3 separate regions of the Homo sapiens genome follow, and all the other regions are linked to region 3. Evidence: promoter capture Hi-C in human tissues and cell types (Jung and others, 2019). All regions are on one chromosome and are shown on one strand. The core of a region is centred on a gene start or on the middle of the fragment in contact, and the rest is flanking DNA. Distances in the headings are between cores, read along the strand shown. Region 1 overlaps RRAGC (Ras related GTP binding C). Region 2 overlaps MACF1 (microtubule actin crosslinking factor 1). Region 3 holds the start of NDUFS5 (NADH:ubiquinone oxidoreductase subunit S5).

Region 1 (2,700 bases), core at 9-2,508, 170 kb after region 3:
CCCAGACATGAATTTTGAGGTTTTTATTCACAAAGTTGATGGTCTGTCTGATGATCACAAAATAGAAACACAGAGGGACATTCATCAAAGGGCCAATGATGACCTTGCAGATGCTGGGCTAGAAAAACTCCATCTTAGGTAACAACATGTGTGTTTGATATGAAAGCCCTGAACAAGGTGTAAATGTATTCCCATCTCTGTCATTACAAACACCATAGCTTTCTGCTACCTGTGTGCCCTTTGCCACATCTTTTATGTTTTTGATCTTGTTGTTGAATTCCAGGCTGTCTGGGGAGCCTGATATTGAGAAATTACCCACTTTTTGCGTTTTCCTGGAGATTGAAGTCATGTGAAGTGTTTCCACTGGTGCTTTTCCAAATTCATCTCAAGAGACTGGAGTCAGGCTGTTTCTTCATGGCATAAATCTGCTTTGGGACTCCTTCCTCTTGGTTTCATTACTTTTCCCCGCCTTGCATCAGTGAAGTGAATCTGTCACATTTGTTGTGGAAGTCTTTAGCTTGAGTCTTAGACAGTATCTTTCTCAGTAGGAACAGCCTTATACAGAGAGTGCACTTTCAAATCTGGACTGACTCTTTTTATTTTTCATTTTTATTTTTCCTGCTGGCTCCCTTCCACCTCCCCCCTGGACTGACTGTAATATATCTTAGCTTTTAAAACACTTTATACTTTTATGAAACTCTATAAAGTTTGGCTTAGGTGGGTTTATCTTATAAATGTGCATAAGGCTGCTATTAAATTTAGAGGACTATTGGTTTGTAACTACTGTTAAGAAATTATTATTAAATAATACCTACTTGATAGGATTGATTTGTGTATTTGCATTCTAAAAGTGTATGAGGAATATTTTTGTACATCTTATTTTATTTGGTGATATAGGTAGAAATGAGTATTAAAAAGTACCCAAGAAAATATTCTCTTGACGATAGAAGTAGCTTAAAGAGGGAGAAGGGGAGAGAGACAGCAAGTTATTTCTCTGTCCCCGTTCTATTGTTGTGACTTCTTTATGGGCTCAAGCTAACTGCTATCCCTCCCCCTAAAATTCTCTGGGTCTCAGGCTCCAAGATCTTTCAGTTATTCTTCTAGGAAACCATGTCGAAAAGTCTCATTGACCTCTAGTTTGCCTGGATTAAATTTCTAAATAATTTGAAAATAATTCATGTTAAAAAAATAAAAATTCAGCAATGTTTGTAGGAGAAAATGTAAGTGGCTCTCCACAAAAATTCAGTCTTATTTTTTTGGGAATCCACTGCTAATAGTTTTTTACCTGGATTTTGAGCCGTTCTTGTCCTGTGTTCCCCAGTGCTCCATGGGGATCCTTCTGATTCTCTTTACTCCGTGTCTGTGTTCCTTTCCAGGGCATCCCACCCTAGTGGTACATGCCATCCCTTTCCTCAGTACCATGTAGGGTCCTAGACCTTGTTAACTTCAGTAGAATGTTGCATCAAGCTTTTATTTAGGCCAGGCATAGTGGCTTATGCCTATAATCCCAGCACTTTGGGAGGCCGAGGCAGGCAGATCACTTGAGGCCAGGAGTTTGAGACCAGCCTGGCCAACATGGCGAAACTCCGTCTCTACTAAAAATACAAAAAATTAGCCGGGCATTGTGGTGTGTGCCTGTAGTCCCAGCTACTTGGGAGGCTGAGAGAGGAGAATCGCTTGAACCCAGGAGGTGGAGGTTGCAGTGAGCCAAGATCGTGCCACTGGACTCCAGCCTGGGTGACAGAGCAAGACTCCGTCTCAAAAAAAAAAAAAAAAAAAAGACTTTTATTTAGTACTAGCAGTCCTATGGATGAAGCTCCTTTTCATTTCCAGTTTCTAGAAACTCAGTTTACTAAAATGCCCTGTGACTTGCAGGTTCTCCCTGTCCCCATTTACCTCAAGCCTCAAAGGTGCGGGACATTCTTTCTTTGCTCACCTTTTGGCCTACAGGAAACACTAAAATATTCCTTTCTCCCTAGTATCTATGGGGTCATCTTGGCCTTACCTGTTCCAGTGCTCTTACATCTAGATTAGACCCCTGTCTTGCTAGATTAGGTTCTTAGGTCAGCTCCTTGAAAGTATTTTTTTTTTTTTTTTTGAGATGGAGTTTCACTCTTGTTGCCCAGGCTGGAGTGCAATGATGCCATCTCGGCTCACCGCAACCTCTGCCTCCCTGGTTCAAGCGATTCTCCTGCCTGAGCCTCCCAAGTAGCTGGGATTACAGGCATGCGCCACCACGCCTGGCTAATTTTTTGTATTTTTAGTAGACATGGGGTTTCTCCATGTTGGTCCGGCTGATCTCGAACTCCCGACCTCAAGTGGTCCACCTGCCTTGGCCTCCCAAAGTGCTGGGATTACAGGCGTGAGCCATCGCGCCCAGCTGAAAGTATCTTTAAATTACCTATAAAGTTCTGTGTCTCTGATGTTATATATACGTATAAATGTGTGGTGGATGCGACTATATAATGAAGATTGTACTCCCTGAGTTATAAAGCAGATAGAATTGTTGACAGTGTTTAAATTGTTAAAGGCTTCCCTCTCAAATACGTGTTTTATTGAATCTACATGTGTTACTTCTCCACCGTAAGTCCTTTTAGGCCTCCAGACTCCTGTAGATTCCTCCATTCTCTGTAGAGTCCCGACTCCCATCCTGTTTAATATGCTCTTTACATAAATTGTAAACACCAATTGTATTCATTT
Region 2 (2,700 bases), core at 44-2,543, 240 kb before region 3:
GGGCGGATCATGAGGTCAGAAGATCAAGACCATCCTGGCTAACACGGTGAAACCCCATCTCTACTAAAAATACAAAAAATTAGCCGGGTGTGGTGGCGGGCGCCTGTAGCCCCAGCTACTCGGGAGGCTGAGGCAGAAGAATGGCATGAACCTGGGAGGTGGAGCTTGCAGTGAGCTGAAATCGCGCCACTGCACTCCAGCCTGGGTGACAGAGTGAGACTCCGTCTCAAAAAAAAAAAAAAAAAAAAGAAAAAAGAAAAAAGATGAAAGAAAGGATATACCAAAGATACTATGTGTGTCAAATATAAAGACATACAAGCAACAGTACATATTGTTTATGAATAGATCATCTGCTGTAAATGTACAAAAGCATGTATGGGAATGATACACATCAACTTTAGGATAATATTTACCTGGGGAGCAGAGAGGGCAAAGAAAGTTGGATGTATCTGAGATGTTTTATTACTTTAAAGAGGAAGAGAGAGAAAAAACCCTGAAGCAAATATAACAAAAGGAACACCTGTTAAATTCTGAAGGCAACTACACACATAAGGATCTGTTATATACTCTTCCGAGTATTTGAGATTTTCAAAACTAAAAACTCAAATTAAAATTAAAAAGAACATCTACCATTTAGCACATTAAAAAAAATGTGTTAAAGCATTTTAGAAACCATAAACCTCTGCATGAAGTTATCAATATTACCAGCCTCATCAGCAGTCACAAATCTTTAATCTGGATCCAGCCTCTCCCTTCTCCTTCAACTGAATATTCCCTTGAGGTGAAAACTACCATCCATGTCTACAGGTACATCATTATTCTACTTCATTAACACCAATAACACAGACTGACCATAATAACAATTTTGCTGATTCCCTAACATGTAACAGTTCTACTCTGCATTTCCATTTGGCTTTACATAGCATATGTTCTTGGTGAGAACAGCTAATAGATACTCAATAATGAAAGACTAGAAAACCACAATGACAGATAACTAGCAAAAGACATACCATGCCAAATCTGATGCAAGACGAGGCGGGGGGTGGGGGGGCACTCCACATGATCCTTCAGTAGTCAATCAAAAGCTTCACAAGCAGAGAACCTTTCCCCACACACCAGAACACTTAGCTAGTATAGGCAAATACCAAGCCCTCAGAACGGCAAAGAAAAGGAATCCATAGTTAAAACTGAGAAAATATTCTGGGAGCGGTGCTCCCACCTACAAGAAGACAAATAAATAGGCATTTGGCTGTGCTGAAATAACAGAGAAAAGCAGGCAGCCAATATGCATGCAGAAGACAGACTAGGCCAAAGCTGCTATTACCTTTCTGTAAAATTGGTAACAGGAAAAAGAACAGTGGGCTGTGTCAAAAGCCCTGGAAGTTATAAGGTCAATTAATAATTATAATAAGTTGTTACTAGTAACTGCTGCCCACTGTTGAGTTCATACTGTGTTCCATCATCCTAACCCATACCTCTCTCATTCTCTAAACCTCTGTCAAGTTATTTTATGGTATGTCTGTTCTCACTCTCCTAAACAATAAGAGTCCAACTAGATGGTCTGTATCTAGTTCAATTTTGTATCTTCTGTAGTAGATTCTTTTTTTTTTTTTTTTTTTTTTGTGATGGAGTCTCGTGTAGCCCAGGCTGGAGTGCAGTGGCACAATTTCAGCTCACTGCAGCCTCCACCTCCCGGGTTCAAGTGATTCTCATGCTTTGCAGCCTCCCAAGTAGGTGGGACTACAGTGCGCCAACACACCTGGCTAATTTTTGTATTTTTAGTAGAGATGGGGTTTTACCATGTTAGCCAGGCTGGTCTTGAACTCCTGACCTCAAGTGATCTGCCCACCTAGGCCTCCCGAAGTGCTGGGATTACAGGTGTGAGCCATTGCACTCAGCCGTGTATCTTCCATACACTCTATCTAAGACCTTGCTCATAACATTCCCAGTCAATGTTTGTGGAATTCAATTAAATAATACATTTTCCTGCAAACTAAAACCACAAAGAGATACAATTTCACACTCACTGTGATAGCTATAATCTAAAACAGACAATAAATACTGGTGAGGATGTAAAGACACAGGAAACCACATACATTGCTGGTAGGAATGTAAAATGATACACCATTTTGCAAGACAATTTGGCAGTTTCTTTAAAAGCTAAACATGCTTACTGTACAATTAAGAAATCCCATTCCTAGGTATATACATGTATACACAAGAGAAATGAAAACATAAACCCACACAGACTGGTATGCAAATAACTTTATTTATAACAGTGAAAAAGTGAAAACCACTCAAATGTCTATCAACTGGCTTAATATTTAAACAAAATACATGATATATCCATACAACAGAATATTCAGCAATAAAAAAGAATGACGTACTGATATGTGCCACAACATGGATGAACCAAAAAATATTATGTTAAGTGAAAAAAGCCAGATACAAAAGACCATCTATCATAGGATTCCATTTATATGAAATGTCCAGAATAAGCAAATCTATCAAGATAGAAAATAAATTAGTGGCTGCCTGAGGCTGGTGATGAAAATGTGCAGTAACTGTAAATGAACAAGAAGGATCTTATTTGGATGATGAAAATGTCCCCAAACTAGATTATGGTGATGATTGTACAACTCATAAAAATCATTAAATTAGTTGATTTGATGGTATGTAAATTACACCTCAGTAAAGTTT
Region 3 (2,700 bases), core at 201-2,700:
AAGAATTTGGATCCTTTGGTCAGGTTCTCTGTCTCAAAAAAAAAAAAAAAAAAAAAAAAAGGCACTTGTGGTGGTATGTGCGCCTGTAGTCCCAGCTACTCCTAAGGCTGAGGCAGGAGACTGAGGCCAGGAGTTCAAGGCTTCAGTGAGCTATGACCTGGCCACTGCACTCCATCCTGGGCAACAAAGCGAGATCCTGTCTCAAAAAAAAAAAAAAACCAGAGCGAAAGAAATGGGTTAAGACTTACTTTGTAGACTATTACAGACAGTAGGGAAAAAAATTTACATGCAAATACATAATAATGTTAAATGTAAAAACACACACACAAAAACAAACCCTGACTGCCTAAAATGACTGAAAGGAAGCGCGCGCACACCCACAAATATCAATATAAATGTGTACTCATGGTAGATTTAAAGGTGAATTTAGTTGGGCGCAGTGGCTCACGCCTGTAATTCCAGCACCTTGGGAGGCCGAGGCGGGCGGATCACCTGAGGCCGCGAGTTCAAGACCAGCCTGACCAACATGGCGAAACCCTCTCTCTACTAAAAAAATACAAAATTAGCCGGGCGTGGGGGCGCATGCCTGTAATCCCAGCTACTCGGGAGTCTCAGGGAGGAGAATCGCTTGAATCCGGGAGGCAGAGGCTGCAGTGAGCCGAGATCGCGCCACTCTGCACTCCAGCCTGGGCAACAAGAGCGAAACTCCATCTCAACAAAAAGGTGAATTTAACTTCTTAAGTTCCTTCCCATCCCTCAGTCATCATTTACTGAGTAGTTACGTTCCAGGCACTCAGATGCGGGGGAAAGCAGCTCCAACGTAAGCACCAGAGACACACACTCGGAATTGCGAATACACTGCAAGGAACACGAGTGGGTAAGAGCTCGAAGGAGGAAGCACGAACTCTGCCCGGAGACTTGAAAATGCCTTTAACATGGCTTGCGAGTTCGCCAAGTGAAGATCAGTGGGCAGAGTGTTCCAGTTGGGCAACAGCCCGGAGTTACAGCCGGAAGTGCTGGCTATGTTTGGGGGACAATGGAGCGCAGCGTGCATGACGGTGAAAAGAATGAAATGAGCTCAGGAGGCCGGCGGGGCCGAAATCACGCAGAGCCTGGAAAGCTGGGATAAGGATCGTAGACTTTAGGTTAAGAAACAGAAAGCCAAAACATTAGTCCGGCAAAAACCTAAACAAATGTGGAAAGTGGAGAGAGCGGCAATCTCCAGGCTTCGGTGCCATTAGCTGTGGAGGTGAAGCGGCCTGGGAGGGCAGGGAACACGCCCTGAGTTCAGGTCTGGGAGAAGGGGACACACAGCAAGCCAAGAGGAAATCTGTTAAAGAGACCTCGGAAGGAAGGTCCTTAAGCTAAGCTGCCGCGCGGACATAAGCAGCCCCTACCTACCCGATGCTCGTGCCCTTGACTCTTCTCTGGCCGCCGCTTCAGAACGACTAGCTAGCGACGCGGACGCCTGCCGTAAAGGATGACCTCAGCGAGACGTTTGCAGCGCGACGCCGGAAGCCGACCTTCCCTCAGCCGTCTCCCCACAAAACCATAGAAACCGAGCCCGTTGGCCTGGTACGGTGGCTGACGTCTGCAATCCCAGCACCTTGGAAGGCTGAGGGAGGAAGATCACTTCAGCCCAGGAGTTCGAAAACAGCCTGGGCAACATGGCGAAACTCCCCTCTCTACAAAAAATAAAAAATTAGCCGGGCGAGGTGGTGCATGCCTGTGGTTCCAGCTACTCAGGAGGTTGAGGTGGGAGGATCCCTTGAGCCCAGGAGATTGAGGCTGTAGTGAGCCATGATCACACCATTCCATTGCATTCCAGCCCTGGCAACAGAGCAAGACCTTATCTCAGGGGGAGAGTGAGAGAGAGAGGATGAAGAAGAGAGAGAGGAGGTAGAGAGAGAGAAAGGAAAAAAAACCCAAACCCATCAATTACAGAGACACAGGGAAGGCCTAGCCATTAGTGAGTTCTTGCTCCTTTCTTGCACTCTGCCTAGCATGCTCACGACAACACTGAGTGGTGAGAGACTTCACCAAAGTCACAGGAGAGAAAGAACACTGGCTCCCTGCCTACCCACTAGTGGTTAAGCACATGGACTATGAGCCCAAACCACCACGTGGGGTCAAATGTAGGCCCCCAGCCGGGCGCAGTGGCTCAGGCCTGTAATCCCAGCACTATGGGAGGCCGAGGTGGGCGGATCACAAGCTCAGGAGATCGAGACCATCCTGGCCAATATGGTGAAACCCTGTCTCTACTAAAAATACAAAAATTAGCTGGGTGTGGCAGCGAGTGCCTGTAATCCCAGCTAGTGGGGGGAGGCCGAGGCAGGAGAATCGCTTGAATCCGGGAGGCGGAGGTTGCAGTGAGGTGAGATCGCGCCACTGGACTCCAGCCTGGCGACAGAGCTAGATTCAGTCTCAAAAAAAAAAAAAAAAAAAAAAAAAAAAAAAAAAAAAAGTAGGCCCCCACCAATTTCGTGTGACTCTAGGAAAGTTTCTTAACTTCATTGTGCCTCAGTCTCCTCGTCTGTTAAGATAATTATGGTATTCACAATGGAGGCTTGCTATAGGGATTAACTGATTTATGTATAAAGCACTGAGGCGGTGGCTAGCACATGGGAAACATTCCAAGGCAGTCGCAGTTCTTTGATGTCTCAGCTTTCAGTTTGTGAATCAACTGCTACCATGCCTGTC

What was found. The method cuts DNA at HindIII sites, captures the fragments that hold promoters and counts their contacts. A contact is called where the count stands out against the background at its distance.
Region 1: a contact is called between a fragment that was not itself captured here and the fragment with the promoter of NDUFS5 in region 3, in 1 of the 25 tissues and cell types used here (adrenal gland).
Region 2: a contact is called between a fragment that was not itself captured here and the fragment with the promoter of NDUFS5 in region 3, in 1 of the 25 tissues and cell types used here (pancreas).

Annotation. Positions count from the first base shown.
Region 1 is chr1:38,853,146-38,855,845 of GRCh38, reverse strand. RRAGC (Ras related GTP binding C) reads left to right here. Exons shown (of 7, transcript NM_022157.4): 3 at 1-138. Among named protein-coding and RNA genes, the nearest start is that of RRAGC, 5.3 kb to the left of the region's middle. The HindIII fragment of the contact is 4,658 bases long and covers 1-2,700 here.
Region 2 is chr1:39,261,320-39,264,019 of GRCh38, reverse strand. The region is part of intron 6 of MACF1 (microtubule actin crosslinking factor 1); the gene reads right to left. Among named protein-coding and RNA genes, the nearest start is that of MACF1, 58 kb to the right of the region's middle. The HindIII fragment of the contact is 3,503 bases long and covers 1-2,700 here.
Region 3 is chr1:39,025,100-39,027,799 of GRCh38, reverse strand. It overlaps NDUFS5 (NADH:ubiquinone oxidoreductase subunit S5), which reads right to left and starts at 1,450. Exons shown (of 3, transcript NM_004552.3): 1 at 1,398-1,450. RefSeq lists enhancers at 337-922, 923-1,509, 1,369-1,618. The HindIII fragment of the contact is 8,915 bases long and covers 1-2,700 here.